Linked DNA regions of Homo sapiens: region 1 is linked to region 2. The links are contacts of gene promoters, found by promoter capture Hi-C in human tissues and cell types (Jung and others, 2019). All regions are on one chromosome and are shown on one strand. Each heading gives the region's core, a stretch centred on a gene start or on the middle of the fragment in contact. The rest is flanking DNA. Distances are from core to core; before and after follow the strand shown. Region 1 has its middle 33 kb from the start of C16orf54. Region 2 holds the start of SEZ6L2 (seizure related 6 homolog like 2).

Region 1 (3,272 bases), core at 103-2,602, 190 kb before region 2:
TTCCTTTCTCATTATTTAGGACCTTAGGCAAGTAAAGGGAGACTTAGGCCAATTTTCTTTCTTTCTTTATTTTTTTTTGAAACATAGTTTTGCTCTTGTTGCCCAGGCTAGAGTGCAATGGCGTGATCTTGACTCACTGCAACCTCCACCTCCCGGGTTCAAGCAATTCTCCTGCCTCAGTCTCCCAAGTAGCTAGGATTCACAGGCGTGCATCACCATGCCCAGCTAATTTTATGTTTGTTTGTTTTTTTAGTAGAGACAGTTTCACCATGTTGGTTTGGCTGGTCTTGAACTCCTGACCTCAGATGATCCACCCGCCTCAGCCTCCCAAAGTGCTGGGATTACAGGCGTGAGCCACTGCGCCTGTCCAATCTTCTAATGACCCTGATAGGTATACAGAAGTTTTCCACAATTTAACTCAGGTATTTAACCTCTCATGGAGGAATGTTATGCTGCTCTTAAGCCAAACCCTAACTGCAGTTAAAACAGGCAGCTCTGCAAGCAGAAGAAAATTTTGGAGATAAGCAATAGGTCTCCTATAGTAGGCCAAAAGGGAAAAGAAAAAATAGGGAAGGCAAAGAAATAGGGGAAACAATATTTCCAATAGGAAAAGAGGCAATACCTCTTGGCAACCCTATTTGTCACTCCTTTCTATGGTGTTTTTCCTTCTTTCACGGTTTAAAATGGCTTCTATCTCTTTTATAATGTTCTTCCAACCTGGGAAAAGTTATTTTTCCAAACGTTAAAATGCTTGGCTTAGAGTTGAGCTAGGGGGAAGGGAACACAGAAGCCTGGTATGCTGGCAAAAGGGTAAACATTTCTTACCAGATGGGCTTTTGGCTTCTCCCTGTGCAAACCGGTAAAAGGGATAATAAGGATCATTGTTTATATTCTCTGTAAATTTCTAATTCATAAAAAAGGATTTGTGAGGTTGGTCTTAAGCTGTAAACAATCTGGTGTGCTTTGCATGTCTTTCCCTAAGAAAGGGTATCTTAGGTTAGGATGCAGGCCTAGGACCCCATAAGCCTGGTGTTTGAGCGAGCCCAACAAAATCGTCACTAACAAAATTGGCTATAAGCCTTCATCTTGTTTCATGTCCTTGGAAACATGACCTGTAACCACGTGGCAATACTTTGTTTGAGTCTCCACCATTTCATAATGGTGGCTGTCTTCTGGTGCTAAGTCAGTTTCTGGGTGAGGGCCACAAAATCAGATTAAGTCGGTTTGTCAATCTGGGTGGTGCCAGCTGATCCATCAAGGGCAGGGTTTACAAAATATCTTAAACACTCATTTTAAGAGTAGTTTAGGGAGTGTCAAAATCTTGTAGCCTCCAGATGCATAGCTCCTAAGCCATAGTTTCCAATATATATATATAATTTTATATTATATATATACATAATTTTATATTATATATATTAATATATAATATATATAATTATATATGTTAATATATTTAATATATAATTATATAAAATATATAATATATAATTATATATGTTAATATATTTAATATATAATTATATAAAATATATTAATATATATAATTATATAGTTAATATATTTAATATATAATTATATAAAATATATAATTATATATAATTATATAAAATATATAAATATATATAATTATATAAAATATATAATTATATATAATTATATAAAATATATAATTATATATAATTATATAAAATATATAATTATATATAATTATATAAAATATATAAATATATATAATTATATAAAATATATAAATATATAATTATATAAAATATATAAATATATAATTATATAAAATATATAAATATATAATTATATAAAATATATAAATATATAATTATATAAAATATATAAATATATATAATTATATATAATTATATAAAATATATAAATATATATAATTATATAAAATATATAAATATATATATATATATATTTTTTTTTTGAGATGGAGTCTTGCACTGTTGCCCAGGGTGGAGTGCAGTGGCGCAATCTCAGCTTGCTGCAACCTCCACCTCCCAGGTTCAAGTGATTCTCTTTGCCTCAGCCTCACAAGTAGCTGGGATTACAGGCGTGTACCACTACACCTGGCTAACTTTTGTATTTTCAGTAAAGACAGGGTTTCACTATGTTGACCAGGCTGGTTTCGAACTCCTGACCTCGTGATTCGCCCACCTTGGCCTCCCAAAGTGCTGGGATTACAGGCGTGAGCCACCACGCCCAGCCTGGTTTTTAATCTTATGGCTAGTTTCTTGGTCTGGTCCCCAGACAAGAGGGAAGTATATCTTAAGAAGGGGCTGATATCATCTTTGTTTTAAACTATCTATAGTTTAATAACTATAAACTATCTATAGTTTAATAACTATAAACTATAGCTTAATAACTATAAACTATAGTTTAATAACTATAAACTATAGTTTAATAACTATAAACTAGTTTAATAACTATAAACTATAGTTTAATAACTATAAACTATCTATAGTTTAATAACTATAAACTATCTATAGTTTAATAACTATAAACTATCTATAGTTTAATAACTATAAACTATAGTTTAATAACTGTAGTTTTAAACTATCTATAGTTTAATAACTATAAACTGTCTATAGTTTAATAACTGTAAACTCGCCCCTCCCAAAGTTGGTCCAGCCTACACCCAGGGATGGGCAAGGACAGCTTGGGGGCTGGAAACAAAATGGAGTTGTTTGGGTCGGATCTCTTCTCTTTCACTGTCTCAGTCTCAGTTTTGCAATGACAGTTTCAAAAGCTGCCTATTACTCCTTTGAAAATACCTTGTACACTTGTGGATAAGTCATAACCTAATTAAGGCTCATTGGGTTCACCTGTGAGGTTACTTTTTGTAAAACTCAAAAGCCAAAAATCTTAACTGCTTGGCATGGCTAAAGTCAAGTAACAAGGGATTTTGAAGGCTTTTCTTAGAGCACTCAGCTTAATTAAAAGTGGATATTCAAGTTATAGGTATACTTAAAAGGCCTTTATGTTTTTCTCTTCTTGAATCTTGTTTTCTGGAAAAAGGCTCTTCTCAGTCAACTGAATTATTTTTCTCCATTTTTGTCTTAACCACTCTTAATGCATGCATGAGAGTCCCTAAGACAACTTCTGACAGCATGGAACTCCTTGGGAAAAACAGAGGAGGTGCCACAAACCCTGTTTTGGAAAAAAAACCTGTTTTCCTCATGAAACCCCCAAAATTAAAAGCTGATAGTTCCCTCTCAAAACCAAAGGCTCTGTTCTGTTATGTATTGTGTTATCTA
Region 2 (3,317 bases), core at 475-2,974:
CCACTCCTGCCACTCTGGGGGCCTCACCTGGCAGGTAGCCCATCTCTGGGCCCCTCCTCAGCAGGGCCCCATGAAGCAGTTCAGCCAGGGCCTCAGAGGCCACCGTGGGGGTCTCACTTCCAGGCTCTGGCAATATCTCCTCCTCCTTCAGGGGCAGACCTAGGAGGTGAAGTTGTGTGAGCTTCTCCACTTCCCCACACCCCTTCCTTCTCCAGAGAGATATTTTCTAGAACTCTTCCTCCCTCCTCCATCAGCTGGGCCTGCAGGGGCTCAGATGGTCCCAGGCTCGACTGAGGGCCAAGATCGGAGGAGGGGCTCCCAGCTGCCCTCATACTCCCACTCCCACACCTCTTCTCTCCCCTCCCCTCTCCCTTCTCCCTGGGCTGTGTGGGCCTTCATTGAACACCTTAGCTCTTATGGACCCTGGACAGCGCCAGCAAGGCAGAGGGGTCGCCGGTGCTGCCTTCCCTTTCACCTCAGTGGTGATCTCCCCCCAACCCTGGGGCTCTGCAGAGGATCTGGCCGCACCTCCCAGCCCTTGCTTCCGCAGTGCCTGGCTTTCTCTCTGGGTTTCTGTCTCTGCAGTGTGGCTGTCTTTTCTCTCTCTCTCTCTCTCTCTCTCCCCCCCACCCTCTCTCTCTCTGGTCCTCTGCAGTCTCTGCCTCCTTCCCTGGAGTCTGGCTGGGGGTCAGAGTGGGGGACTGAAAATCTGGTCTTTGAGCCCTGCCTCTGCTCATCTGTCTTTGTCCATTCATCCAAGAACAGTTGTGTGTACAGCGCCTGGCATCTCTCTCAGCACCTCCATCTCCCACCCAGGTCCCTCCATGCTTCTGCCGCCTCCGCAGACATCCCCCCAACTTTCCCAGCCCTCCTTCTTGGATCTAGCCCCTGAGACACTGCTAAAAGCTTCTCTCATTCATTTCTCTGCCTTCTCAATATTGAGGGTTAAGGGGCTTCGGGTTCAAGCCTGAAAGCTCTGGCTTGCCCCTTCCCCATCAGCTGTGCCTCTCCCCTCCCCCATGTGCTCGGAAGACCCAGGATATTAAGAGAAAGGAGGGTGGAGGACCCCGCTGGACGCCTTCCTGGGGCCCACCCCCACAGTCTCATGTCCTTACCCTGGATCCAGGGACAGCTCAGCAGAATTAGGAACAGCAGCTGGGGAGGCGGCGGGTGCTGGGCCCTGGGAGTCCCCATGGCGACTCACCCCGATCTCTCTCCTCTGTGCCTCTCTAAGTAATCTGGCTGCCACCTTTCCTCCGTCTCCGTTTATCTTTCCCTTTAATTGTTTTTTTTTTTTTTTTTTTTTTCCTCGTAGGAGTCAGCAAAGAAAGACAATTTCTCTGCCCCTTGGGATGGAGGGGCAGAATTGGGCTAGGGGTCGCCTGGAGCCCACCCCCCTTTGCTCAGTCTCCTCTGTCCTCTTCTCGCGGCTCTGTGGTGGAGGGGGCGCGGCTCCGGCTGCAGGGGGTGGGGCCGAGAGGGCCGAAGGGGCCGGGTGGCCTGGGTTACCCTCCTGCTCAGGCGCCTGGGTCCACTGGGCTGTCTGGACCCCAAGCTAGGGGACTGGGGAGGAGAAAGACAGCTTCTGGGGGTTTAGGGTGGGGTCGAGGATCGAGGGGGTCTCCACTGGGCTCTAGCGGGGCTTGTCGGGGAGGGGAAGGGGTGGGTTGGGGAACTGGGAGAGCCGAAGCTCGGGCACTGGAGCTGCGGGAGGGAGAAGCTGAGAAAGGTATCGAGCCCACGTCAGATCCTGGGGACGGGCGGAGGGAGGGGCCTGGGATTTATTTGACGGGGAGGGAGGAGGAGGAAGTGCAGATGGAGGAGGGAGGGATCATACGAGCCAGGGCCGTAATCCTCACTCCCGCGGCCCCTAGGGGAGGCAAAGGAAACTCTCTGGTCCCAGCAGTAATTAGCCCCCTCCGCCTGCCATTCCAGCACATCTGGAATCTGAATCTCCTCTTCCCAGGGTGCCGAGGGGCTGCATAGCTTGGTTCGCGCCTGCTAGGCCCCCAATTATGCCCCCTGTTCACATTCAGACCTCCCAAGGGGCTTCCCTTCCCCTTTTACAGTAGCTCGGGTGGAATGGGCTCTCCCTCCTCCAGGGGAATAGAGAGCTTCCACGATTGTGACAAGTCTCGTGGGTGACGGGCCGGGGTTTGGGGAGGAGAGACAGACCCCTCCTCTTCCATAAACCCTGACCCCGGCCAGCTAACAGGCGGCCTCGGCTCTGATTTTCCCTCCGGAGCGCCCTTTTCAGCACCAGCGGCGCGCGGACAGCTCCCCTCGCCCCGCCGGGGCGGGCCCGGCCCGACGCCGCCCGCGATTGGCTGAGGCCGCTTTCGGTGTTTGCCAGGCTCGCGGGCTCCCGGGCTGCCTAGGGCCAGCGGGAGTCACAGGCCGACCGACCGACGGACCAGCCGCCCGACGGACTGGCCTCAGCATCCTTGCCCGCAGTCCCGGGCGCCTGCCCAGCCGTCAGTCCGCGCTCGCCCCGCCCCTCAGGCCCCGCCCCTCAGGCCCCGCCCGATACGACCCGCCCCTTCTTTCGCATTGCGGGACGGCTGGAGGCTGGCACCGTGGCCCCTGCGCCCCACGTGGCGCCCTTTCCGGGCGGGGGGGGTGGGGAGGCACCTCCAGCGACAACTCTCCCCCCTCCCCCGGCACCCGGCTGATTTGCTGTGCCACTGGGAGGGTTCGGGGGTGGCTGAGCTGAGAGGGCTCCGGGAAGGAGTGACGTCAGGGTGAGTGGGAGCCCAGGAAGGAGCGAGTAGGAGAGAGGGAGCGAGAGCCAGGCAGGACCGCAGGGTCGGGGCTAGTGAGGAGCGAGGGCAAGGAGAGAGCAGTGAGGCCGGAGAGAAAGAAGCTGCCGCGGAGGAAGACAGGCTGCGGGTTCCCGGGACTGCAGGTCCAGGCAGGGTAGGAACCGCTGCCCAGGGGAGCTAGGAGGAAGCGGGGAGAGAGAGCGAGCGAAAAGCGGGGGTGGGGAGGAAAGGGGGAGATTGAGGTGGGAGAGAGAAGCAGAGCGAGAGAGAGGAGGCTGCTGGAAGGAGAAAGAAGAGGGTGAGGAGGCGACAGAGGGAGAGGAGGAAGAAGAGGTAGAAGGAGAGAGAAAGGGGAGAGAAAGGAGAGAGGAGGGTTGGAGGTGCATGAAGGAGGGGAGAGGGAGCTTCAGCGTGGAGAGAGGACCGCGGAAGGAGAGAGAGACAGCCCAGAGTGGAATGTGGAAGGGAAACAGTCCAGCGGGGAGCCAGGGGGCAGCCATGGAAGGGACAGGTGGGGAGCTGGGGGGACAGGGGAACTGGGGTCCGGAGGACGCC

Evidence for each region. The method cuts DNA at HindIII sites, captures the fragments that hold promoters and counts their contacts. A contact is called where the count stands out against the background at its distance.
Region 1: a fragment that was not itself captured here is called in contact with the fragment with the promoter of SEZ6L2 in region 2 in 1 of the 25 tissues and cell types used here (spleen).

The regions. Positions count from the first base shown.
Region 1 is chr16:29,711,852-29,715,123 of GRCh38, forward strand. No RefSeq gene overlaps it. Among named protein-coding and RNA genes, the nearest start is that of C16orf54, 33 kb to the right of the region's middle. RefSeq lists an enhancer at 207-788. The HindIII fragment of the contact is 8,263 bases long and covers 1-3,272 here.
Region 2 is chr16:29,897,826-29,901,142 of GRCh38, forward strand. SEZ6L2 (seizure related 6 homolog like 2) reads right to left here and starts at 1,725. Exons shown (of 18, transcript NM_001243332.2): 1 at 1,116-1,725; 2 at 28-159. The coding sequence starts at 1,194. It overlaps ASPHD1 (aspartate beta-hydroxylase domain containing 1), which reads left to right and starts at 2,663. Exons shown (of 3, transcript NM_181718.4): 1 at 2,663-3,317. The coding sequence starts at 3,147. RefSeq lists an enhancer at 1,623-1,917 and a silencer at 2,281-2,710. The HindIII fragment of the contact is 10,220 bases long and covers 1-3,317 here.